Linked DNA regions of Homo sapiens: regions 1 and 3 are each linked to region 2. Evidence: promoter capture Hi-C in human tissues and cell types (Jung and others, 2019). All regions are on one chromosome and are shown on one strand. Each heading gives the region's core, a stretch centred on a gene start or on the middle of the fragment in contact. The rest is flanking DNA. Distances are from core to core; before and after follow the strand shown. Region 1 overlaps LINC02755 (long intergenic non-protein coding RNA 2755). Region 2 holds the start of KCNA4 (potassium voltage-gated channel subfamily A member 4). Region 3 overlaps LINC02755 (long intergenic non-protein coding RNA 2755).

What was found. The method cuts DNA at HindIII sites, captures the fragments that hold promoters and counts their contacts. A contact is called where the count stands out against the background at its distance.
Region 1: a contact is called between a fragment that was not itself captured here and the fragment with the promoter of KCNA4 in region 2, in 2 of the 25 tissues and cell types used here (H1 embryonic stem cells and dorsolateral prefrontal cortex).
Region 3: a contact is called between a fragment that was not itself captured here and the fragment with the promoter of KCNA4 in region 2, in 4 of the 25 tissues and cell types used here (bladder, dorsolateral prefrontal cortex, heart right ventricle and 1 more).

The regions. Positions count from the first base shown.
Region 1 is chr11:29,456,701-29,459,615 of GRCh38, reverse strand. The region is part of intron 2 of LINC02755 (long intergenic non-protein coding RNA 2755); the gene reads left to right. Among named protein-coding and RNA genes, the nearest start is that of LINC02755, 140 kb to the left of the region's middle. The HindIII fragment of the contact is 4,337 bases long and covers 1-2,915 here.
Region 2 is chr11:30,015,257-30,018,310 of GRCh38, reverse strand. KCNA4 (potassium voltage-gated channel subfamily A member 4) reads left to right here and starts at 1,281. Exons shown (of 2, transcript NM_002233.4): 1 at 1,281-1,739. The HindIII fragment of the contact is 10,149 bases long and covers 1-3,054 here.
Region 3 is chr11:29,481,388-29,484,543 of GRCh38, reverse strand. The region is part of intron 2 of LINC02755 (long intergenic non-protein coding RNA 2755); the gene reads left to right. Among named protein-coding and RNA genes, the nearest start is that of LINC02755, 110 kb to the left of the region's middle. The HindIII fragment of the contact is 5,756 bases long and covers 1-3,156 here.

The DNA.
Region 1 (2,915 bases), core at 416-2,915, 560 kb after region 2:
ATGGTATACATGAATGTCAATTTCATACAGGAACTTTTCATGGTAATGACTAACCTACAAGAATGCCAGTATTTTGAGGAGAGGACATAAGAGTTAATAGAAATAAGCATAAACCCAGGCATATGGGAGATACATCAAAAATATATTAAAGTAAAAATGACATTTTTCAGAATGTATTTGTGAATTAATATTTGGCCTTTCCTCATTAGCTGGGTCTTTGTGTCATTTACATGAGTTGTTTTTCACAGCAATTACAACCAGAATATAGATGCAATGGAGGATGAGGATTAGTTCATCAGGCTAATGATTTGACAGAGAAAAGATTGTTACAGTGGTTATTTTAATTGAAATATGAAGAAAAGGACAATCACGGGCAGTGGAGTGAATCCTGTTTCACTGAACACTTACTGCAATGTGTCTAGTACTTTATAGCTGGTCCTCTTTAACCCTCAAACGTATGTATAAGCTATGTGCTCAGTACTTTCATTTTGCAGATGAAAGAGATGAAATTCAAAGAGGTAAAATGACCTTCCAAAAGTCATACAATTAATGTCGTGCAGGGACTTAGGTCCTTTGATGCTCAAATCTATGCCTTTTCCTTTTGCATCACAATGCCTCCCTTCATCTTAGGCTTTTATTTCCAAATTATAAATTCAATAAAAATATTTTGAAGGTTTCTTATATTTAAATGCAATTTTATGGAAAATTCAAAGTCAAGCAACTCTGCAGTACAAGGTCTAGAACAACTGAAGGTGATCTGAGAGCCTTTTGAGAAGGACACCGAAGGCATCAGGTCAGAAAGCAAAAGAGCAAGACGCCATGGTACCTGGAAAGCCTGAATAATTATTTAAATAAGCCCTGCTTCTCTGCTCAAAAAAGTCACTATAGCATGGAAAAAACTACTTGTAGTTAGAAGTAATAAAATGGTCCTTCAGCAGTTGACTTGTTTTTCACACTCCTTTCTAGGAAATATCTCTAGAAGCACCAGAGTTGTTTTGATTTTAAATGTGTTTATTTTAATAAAGCTACTTTTAAAATAATCTTGCAGAACAGTCAGCTCTGAAAGATAGAGCCTGCTCTGTCAGAGCCCTGAGATTCAAAACAAAGCCTAGCAGTAAATTGATAATTCAGAGAAGGGATAAAAATAGAACCTTAGATCCCTCCTGGGCATTAGTACCATATTATTTTTCGCTAAAGAAGAGAGAAACTTCTGTTACTTCATAGTCTCTCCATCAGCAGCTGAGATCAAAGGAAATTTTTTTTAAGTTAGCATGGGAGATGTAGTGAGAAATTTAGCTGTTGTTTGCTTTCAATTGGTTGAGGGCTCAGGCCAATATGAGATATTGAGAGTAGGAGAAATTTCCTTTTTCTGAAAACTCAAACTAGAGAAGTAAGTCATTATTTTACTAAATGCATTAAAGGCATACTGTGTGCTGAGCCCTGTAGTAGATAAATGGGACACAGAGATAAAGGCAACAGCCCCCATCCTCAATGGGGTCAGTCTAAGTGAGACAGAGATAAAAGTAAAGGTGGGGGTAGGGAGAAAGTCGACTAGAGTTGAATTAAACTGTCCAGGTTATATAATACAAGGCTAACATATTGTATGAAAAGAAACACTTAACACAGTCTTGAAGGACAAGGAGGCCACTAAATGCTTAAGATATGTTTACGAAAGAAACTATTTAGCTGTCAGGATTTCACACTTGAAGGAGTTAATGCTGGATCTGCTATCTTGAAGCATCTTAGAGACCAGGGGATCTCATCCTAAACTGGAATAGAATCACAGATGCTGTATTAGTCCATTCTTATGCTGCTAATAAAGACATACCATAGACTAGGTAATTTATAAAGGAAAGAGTTTAACTGACTCACAGTTCAGCATGGCGGGGGAGGCCTCAGGAAACTTACACTCATGGCGGAAGGGGAAGCAAAGATATCTTTCTTTATGTGGTGGGAGCAGGCAGAAGTGCAGAGCAAAGAGGGAAAAGCCCCTTATAAAACCGTCAGATCCCTTGAGAACTCACTCACTATCATGAGAACAGCAGCATGGAGGTAACCTTCCCCATAATTCAATTACCTTCCACTAGGCCTCTCCCATGACACATGGGGATTACGGGAACTACAATTCATGATGAGAGTTGAGTGCGGACACAGCCAAACCATATCAGATGGTAAGACACAAGCTCCATGGGTGTAGCAATAGCATCTGTATTTTAAAAAACTCTTCCAGATGATTATAATGTTCAGGTAGGATGGAAAATCATTGTTTAAGTCAGACAGAGGAAAGCCAGATGGAAATGTTTTCCTGCAAAGAAGAGACAGGTAGGTAGATAAAATACTTTATTTTAGTTACGGTTCTAGGGAAATTGGGAAAAAGACAAAAGGAAAAGGAAAAATAGAAGAGGGTGAGGAAAGACAAAGAGAAAACATGAATGCATATTCTTACTCCTGAGACAATGGCAAGATTGCTGCTGCCTCTTTCTCTTTTTGAAGCTTTATCTCACCAAACAGATTACAATATCAGTTTAAAGTTAAACCCAAGTTTATTCCACATGCCCACCTCTTCTAGTTGTAAGAAATACAATCTATCTCTCTTAACTTTCCTTCACAGTAGGGATTTACCATAGATTTGTTTTTGTATTCCTTCCAGCCATTCCTCTCTCATCCCAACTCCCTGGGCATTAACATAGCAATTGGAACTCATACAGTCCTCTCTCAAATGTTGAACTTTTTGTTAAACACACACACACACACACACTCTCTCTCTCTCTCTCTCTCTTACTATTTATAGAAAGAGAGAGAGCAAGTAGCCACTTATTATGTACTATGCCTTAACATTCTGAGAAGAGGTTATGCATGCATTAGATGAACAAAAAGGGCATAAACCATATTACTATGGATTGAAGATATGTTGA
Region 2 (3,054 bases), core at 32-2,531:
TTCCTCAAACTGTAACTCCAGCCAATTAGCATGAAAAGCTCAAGAAGCTATTAACCAGAAGTTTCGGCTTTAGGGGACCAGGGACTTGCCCGAGGCCCTGGCATGCGCGGCGGCTAGGTTTAACTTTCAACTCATAGTGACCTTTTCCTTAATTTAATGCAAAAAATCTTTCCCAGAGGTGGAGATTTAAGATGCTAATGATACATACGTCCTATGAAGAAGCATGTTAAACCACCATGCATGCACCAGAAAAACTCCACCTCTACATGCCCTGTCTATAGTTCTCCTTATTTCCCCTTACGGGAGAGGCCCGTAAAAGAAACCCACACCCTGACTTCGAGGAACAGCCCACTTTTTTTTTTCTTGGTGTTAGCTCCCTTGTGCGCACAAGCTTTAATTAAAAGAAAGAAAGAAAGAAAACCAAAAAAACTTGCTTTTTGCTGCGATATCCCTTGATTTCTGTCCTGAAGGATCCAAAGAGCCCTCAGGGAGTCGATACCAGAGCCGTATTTGTTTTTGCAGCAACAGGTTGGCTGCGGGCTCTTCCCCCGCCTTCCAAAGCCCTCAGCCCCTGGCCCACCCTGCAACTTACTCATCTCTCCAACCCTCCTCCCCTAGAACTGCTGCCTCCTGTGCGCAGCCCCTAGCCTGGGCCTGATTCCAATTTCTGTAACATTCCCCTGCCCGGGATTGAATACAGGTTGAAAGTCGGTCTCCTCCGCGCCCCTGAGGCCCAACCCCGGCGCTGAAGCCTCCCAACTCCTGTGTGCAAAGGAGACGGAGACTGAGGGATCTGGGCGCTCTGGCAGGCACAGGAGGGCTCCCCGCCCGTGGCCTCGCCGGAGATGCACCCGGCTCCCAACCCAACAAACCCGCTTTGGGAGGGGATGGGGTGGGGAAAAGAAGACGGGGCTCGGGGCTCGAGGGGAGATATAGAGAAAGCAAGTTAGGTAGAGGAGATGTCCCAGAGGACCCCATTTTCGGGACTGCACCTCCCATTGGAGCTCCCCGCTCCCAAGCCCTCTGGGGACTCCCGCGCTGCCGTCGAAACCCCTATTCCGGCCCCAACGGGGACACTTCTCCAGGATTTGCTCCTCGCCTGTGGGGACCACAGCCAAAGACTCCTGGAATCGATCCCAGATCCTGGGAGTCGGGGGGCCCAGCCGGGGTGCGGGGAGTCGCGGCGTCGTGACTGCACCCGCCCCGCCGCGCCGGGAGGCGCCCCTGGCGACCGTCGCGAACGCCACACCCTCGGTTCGGCCCTGGCCCCGCCCCCGCCCAGAGCGCGTTCGCGGCCAGGGGAGGCGTGTGCTGCTCCCGCAGCCAGCGAGAGCGAGAGAGGGATGGATGTTGGAGGAGGAATTCGGGCTTAACAAGTGATCGCTGCTGTCTAGGATTTTGTTTCTTTTCGGGGGAACCTTGACTTCCTTTCCCAGGCAATCCCTCCTGTGCTGAACTCCAGAGGAACCAGGAGTCTTGGGGTCTTCTCTGGGGCAGCCCCAACCCCCACCCCCAGGCTCCAGCCGCGAGGACTCTGTGCACCCCTCGGGCCAGGCAACAGAACTTGTTCCGTGGATATTTGGAGCCTCCACCTGCCAAACCCGAGTGATTCCTTTTACCACCCCCCGCCCCCCACCCAGGATCATTCTTCCCCTCCTCCAGCTGTTGCAGCTTGAGGGGGAAAAACAAGCCAGCCGGTGGATTTTCTTTATTTTTATTTTTCGCCCCGCCGGGGAACGGTAAGTATGATACCTTTTTTTTTTTTTTTTTTTTTTTGTATCTTTCCTCTACCTTCTTATTTTGGCTGTTAAGAAACAGTGGACATTTGAGGGATAAATAATATCGGGAATGTGACAGAAGGGCATGAATGGAAGGCGGTTAAAAATAAACCAGGAGGTGGGAGAAGGGAGGTGCGGATGCTGCGCGGCGCTCCGGGGGGCCAACAGTTGTTATTTTCCCAAACCCGGGGATGCGGTGAGTGCGCCCTGCTTAACGTGCTGGAGCGGGAACCGAGGTCTGGAGGCGAGGGCGCGATTAAAGATGTCGTTTCCCAACGAGAGGGGGGTTAAGATTTAGCATCGTTTCGCCTCCTCCCAGCCGCACCGGTTCCCTTCTTTTGGGAACAGCCGGTGAACGGGTCTGAATTGCTGCCTCTTCCAACGTTTGGATTTGCGTGCATTTTCCGAGCATTTGAGCAACATACATAGGGGCTGCATAAATGGCGTGCGTTGAAGTGTATATTTCTCACGGTGGTGGCTTTTCTGATTCCCTCTCTCAGTTTCTCTCTCTTTCTCTCTCTCTCTCTCTCTAAGGTTCAGGTACCACCCTGACAGTGACACAGTTGCAGGAATTAGCACTGAGAGACGAACAGCCTTGTTGTTGGAGGGGTGAGAGGAGGAGGGGCGGGATGCTTGGCTGTTGTTTGGGGGCGCCGGGATTGGGGAATAGGTAGTCTGCAAAATCCTATTAGTTTAATGGTGTTAAAGAAGAAGACAAATTCCTCTGCAAAGATCTCTCTCATAAAGGCTCCTGGGAATTGGCTTGAATAGATTCTCCTAACAAGAGTACCTTGAGAAAGAAGAGAGATTTTAAACCAGTCTGATTTGCTGGGAGGAATGATTTTTCTTTTCTCTTCTTTTCTTTCTCTCTCCCTTTCTTTCTAGATCAGGGATAGTGAAGTAACTAGTAGATGATTAAAAGGAAGGCAATTTGCTACTTGTAGGGTGGAGGAGGGAGTTAGATAAACAAAAACTAACAATCCCAAATAAATAAATAAATGTGAAATTATTTGGTGTAGAGCAGAAAGAGGGCAGTTCTAGAACTCCCGAAGAGCTGATGGTGAATTAGAAGACTCGCTAATTCATGACCTTCTGGGAGTCAGTTGGGTGGGAAGGCAGTGTGTGTAGTATTCAACTATACAGGAACTTGGGTTACATTGGGGCTTCATTGAAATTATAATTGTTTTAGGGGAGTTGGGGAAGAAACTGAGCAAACTCTCAGGCTATTTGGTCTGTACCGGTCTTGAAAGGATGTTGGCCTGACACTCCACTGCGA
Region 3 (3,156 bases), core at 126-2,625, 530 kb after region 2:
CTGCATGCATCCTCACATCCACAAGTCTGGCATCAACTTTTTTTAGTGACCTACAACAGAAATTTGGTTGTCATTCTCCTTACCATGCCTGAAGCTTCCTTGCCAGACTCAGGAATGTTTAGAGAGTAGATAAGAAATCCTAATCTTGGGGCACTTGGAGAGGAAAGGACATCTAAATTGAATAAGAGGTCTATCATAAAACTTGAAGATTCATCTGGAAGGTAGATACTTCTGGCATAAGAATGGTTAATGAATGAGTGACCAAAAAGAGGAAATAGCTCAGAAAATATGAGTGTGAGAGAGTGTGTGTGTGTGTGTAGAGAGAGAGAAAGAGTAACTTTAAAAACATTATTTTTCATATACATCCTGTTTTATAATTCTCAATCCTGGGCCTGTATGTTACCAAAATTTTAGTTGCTTATTGAAATTAGCTACTAAAATTTCCTTAAGGAGAGAAAGAAAGGCTGAATGATTCACTCACAAAACAATTGCCACTGTGACTGAGTCGTTCTGATGCGGTGTTTTGCCATCTTCAGTTACCACTCAATTTTTCTAGAAAAAGAAGACCTATATTCAGTCACCAGCAATAACTAGGCAACAAATTGGATCTCATTGCTCAATAAAACTCACACACCAGCCAATATGTGGCAGTGGTTGTGCTTAAAAACCAAATAAACTGGTGATTTATCTAGGTATTTTTCCTCTTTTAGTTACTCCTGACATACACACACACACACACATACACACACACATATGTGTATATATACATATGTATGTATATATACATATATTTCTTTATTATGTAAATAAATATACATAATAACAAAAGGGAAGAAGGAGATAGTATGTGGCCAATTGCTACTTCTATATTTACATCACAGAGCTTAGTTTCTGAGTAAATAAGTCTAAAGAATTTTCATACTAAACTCTGGAAAGAGATAAACATTCGCTACTGAATTTTGATAACATTTAGATAAAATTGCTGCAAAATAACAGATACATTTTCATTTTCAATGGATATTGGCCTTGGCTGTTTATCAGTAACGGACTTGCTGGTGAGAAATCATGTATTCAATTTATTCAACAATTGGTTATTTAGTGCCTAGCCTGTATCAAAGGCCAAAGCATGACATTAGGGATACGTCATAAGTCTCAACCACCAAGATACCTGGACCTAGGCAGGGATATAAATGGAAGAATGAACAATTAAAATTCAACGGGATGAGTTCTGCTTCTATTTAAGATCCTAGTCCTACCACTCCTAATCTGTGCAACTTTAGGAAAATTGCTAACCTCTCTCACTCTCAATTTATCTCTATGTTTATGACAATTAGAGACAGTTAGAGGAACGGGTTGAATAGTGACTCCCAAAAAGATATGTCCACATTTTAACCTCCAGTACCTGTGAATGTTACCTTACTTAGAAAAAGGATCTTTACAGATTTAATTAAGTAAGGAAATTGAGATCATCTGGATTATTGCAGCGGGTTCTAAATCTGGTGACAATTGCTCTTACAAGAAACACGGCACAGTGGCAGATGAGGATAAATAGGCCAGGTGCAGTGGCTCACACCTGTAATCCCAGCACTTTGGGAGGCCGAGACGGGCGGATCACTTGAGGTCAGGAGTTCGAGACCAGCCTGGCCAACATAAGGAAACCTTGTCTGTACTAAAAATGCAAGAAATTACCTGGGCGTGGTGGTGCACAACTGCGATCCCAGATACTCAGAAGGCTGAGCAGGAGAATTGCTTGAACCCAGAAGGTGGAGATTGCAGTGAGCTGAGATCATGCCACTGCACTCAAGCCCTGGGCGACAGAGTGAGACTGTCCAAACAAACAGGGTAAGTGACCATGGAAGCAGAGATTGAAAACATGTGGCCACAATCCTAAGGAAATTTGCAACCACCAGAAGCTGGACAAAGAAAGGAACAGAATCTTCCGTATATCCTCAGGAGGAAGTGTAACCCTGCTGATACCTTGATTTTGAACTTTTGGCCACCAGAACTATGAGTGAATACATTTCTGTTGTTTTATGCAACGAAGTTTTTTGGTTATTTGTTACAGCAGCCCTAGGAAACTAATACTGCTAGAAAAGTCCCCCACACATTATCTGATGCTTGGTAAGCATTTAACAAATCATATATAGGGTGATTAGGATGATGATTAAGTTGATCATTGTACTTTTCTTTTAAAAATCAACAGATAAAAATATTTATTCAACATGTACAGTCCTATACAGACCTGTTTTTAGATTTTGACAGGCTTATAGGTACATTTAAAAAATATTTACATTAACATGCCTTCCAAATCTGTTGGCAATTTCATCTAGGACATTTATTATCTATATATTCACACACAGATTTACCTACTAAATAGGTTTTATTTTGCTTTTAGTGTAAAAAGTGAGAGAGAGAGAGACAGACAGAGACAGAAGATAGATGAGAGAATTAAATAATTATTTAGCAATTATACATACATTAGAAAAACTCACTTTGAATGTCAATACCTGGCACACTGACGTAGGCAAGGACAAGAATAACATTGGCAAGTACAACTCACTGACTCAGAGAGTAAGAACTGATTAGTATAGAGTCAAGAAGAGATCGTTATAAATATAATTAACATTGTTTTCCATGGCCTCATGGAAATTCTTCAAAGTTGCAACACATTCAACTTCCAGTTGCTGATAAGACCAAGGCAAGACATGCTATCAAGGCCACTGATATCTCATGTTAGACTGGAGGAAATTTTTTGTATATATCTCAAAATTTATGGGTATGAGATTTCAAAGATTGGCCCTAAACCTTGACATTCAAACCTGAAAGCTTACACGATTACAATGTTTTGTGAAAATAATACCTGCTAGCAAGGAGATTGAAGTGAACTTTTTGACTATTTTTTAAATTAAAATGTTTTGGTGTTTTTGTGTGACACATTATGAGTATGCTAGTTACACTTACAATAAGTGATGCAGGTGTTTTTGAAGAACAATTGTTATTTTGCCATGGAAATTCCTTAATGAAGAAATTGGTTTCTTGAAATTAGAAACAGGATTATCTATAAGAAAAAATCAGACAGGAATATCTACCTTAAATACATATTAGGAATCCTATAACTTTTCAGAACCTTTGCCCAAATAATAACACTTTCACAGA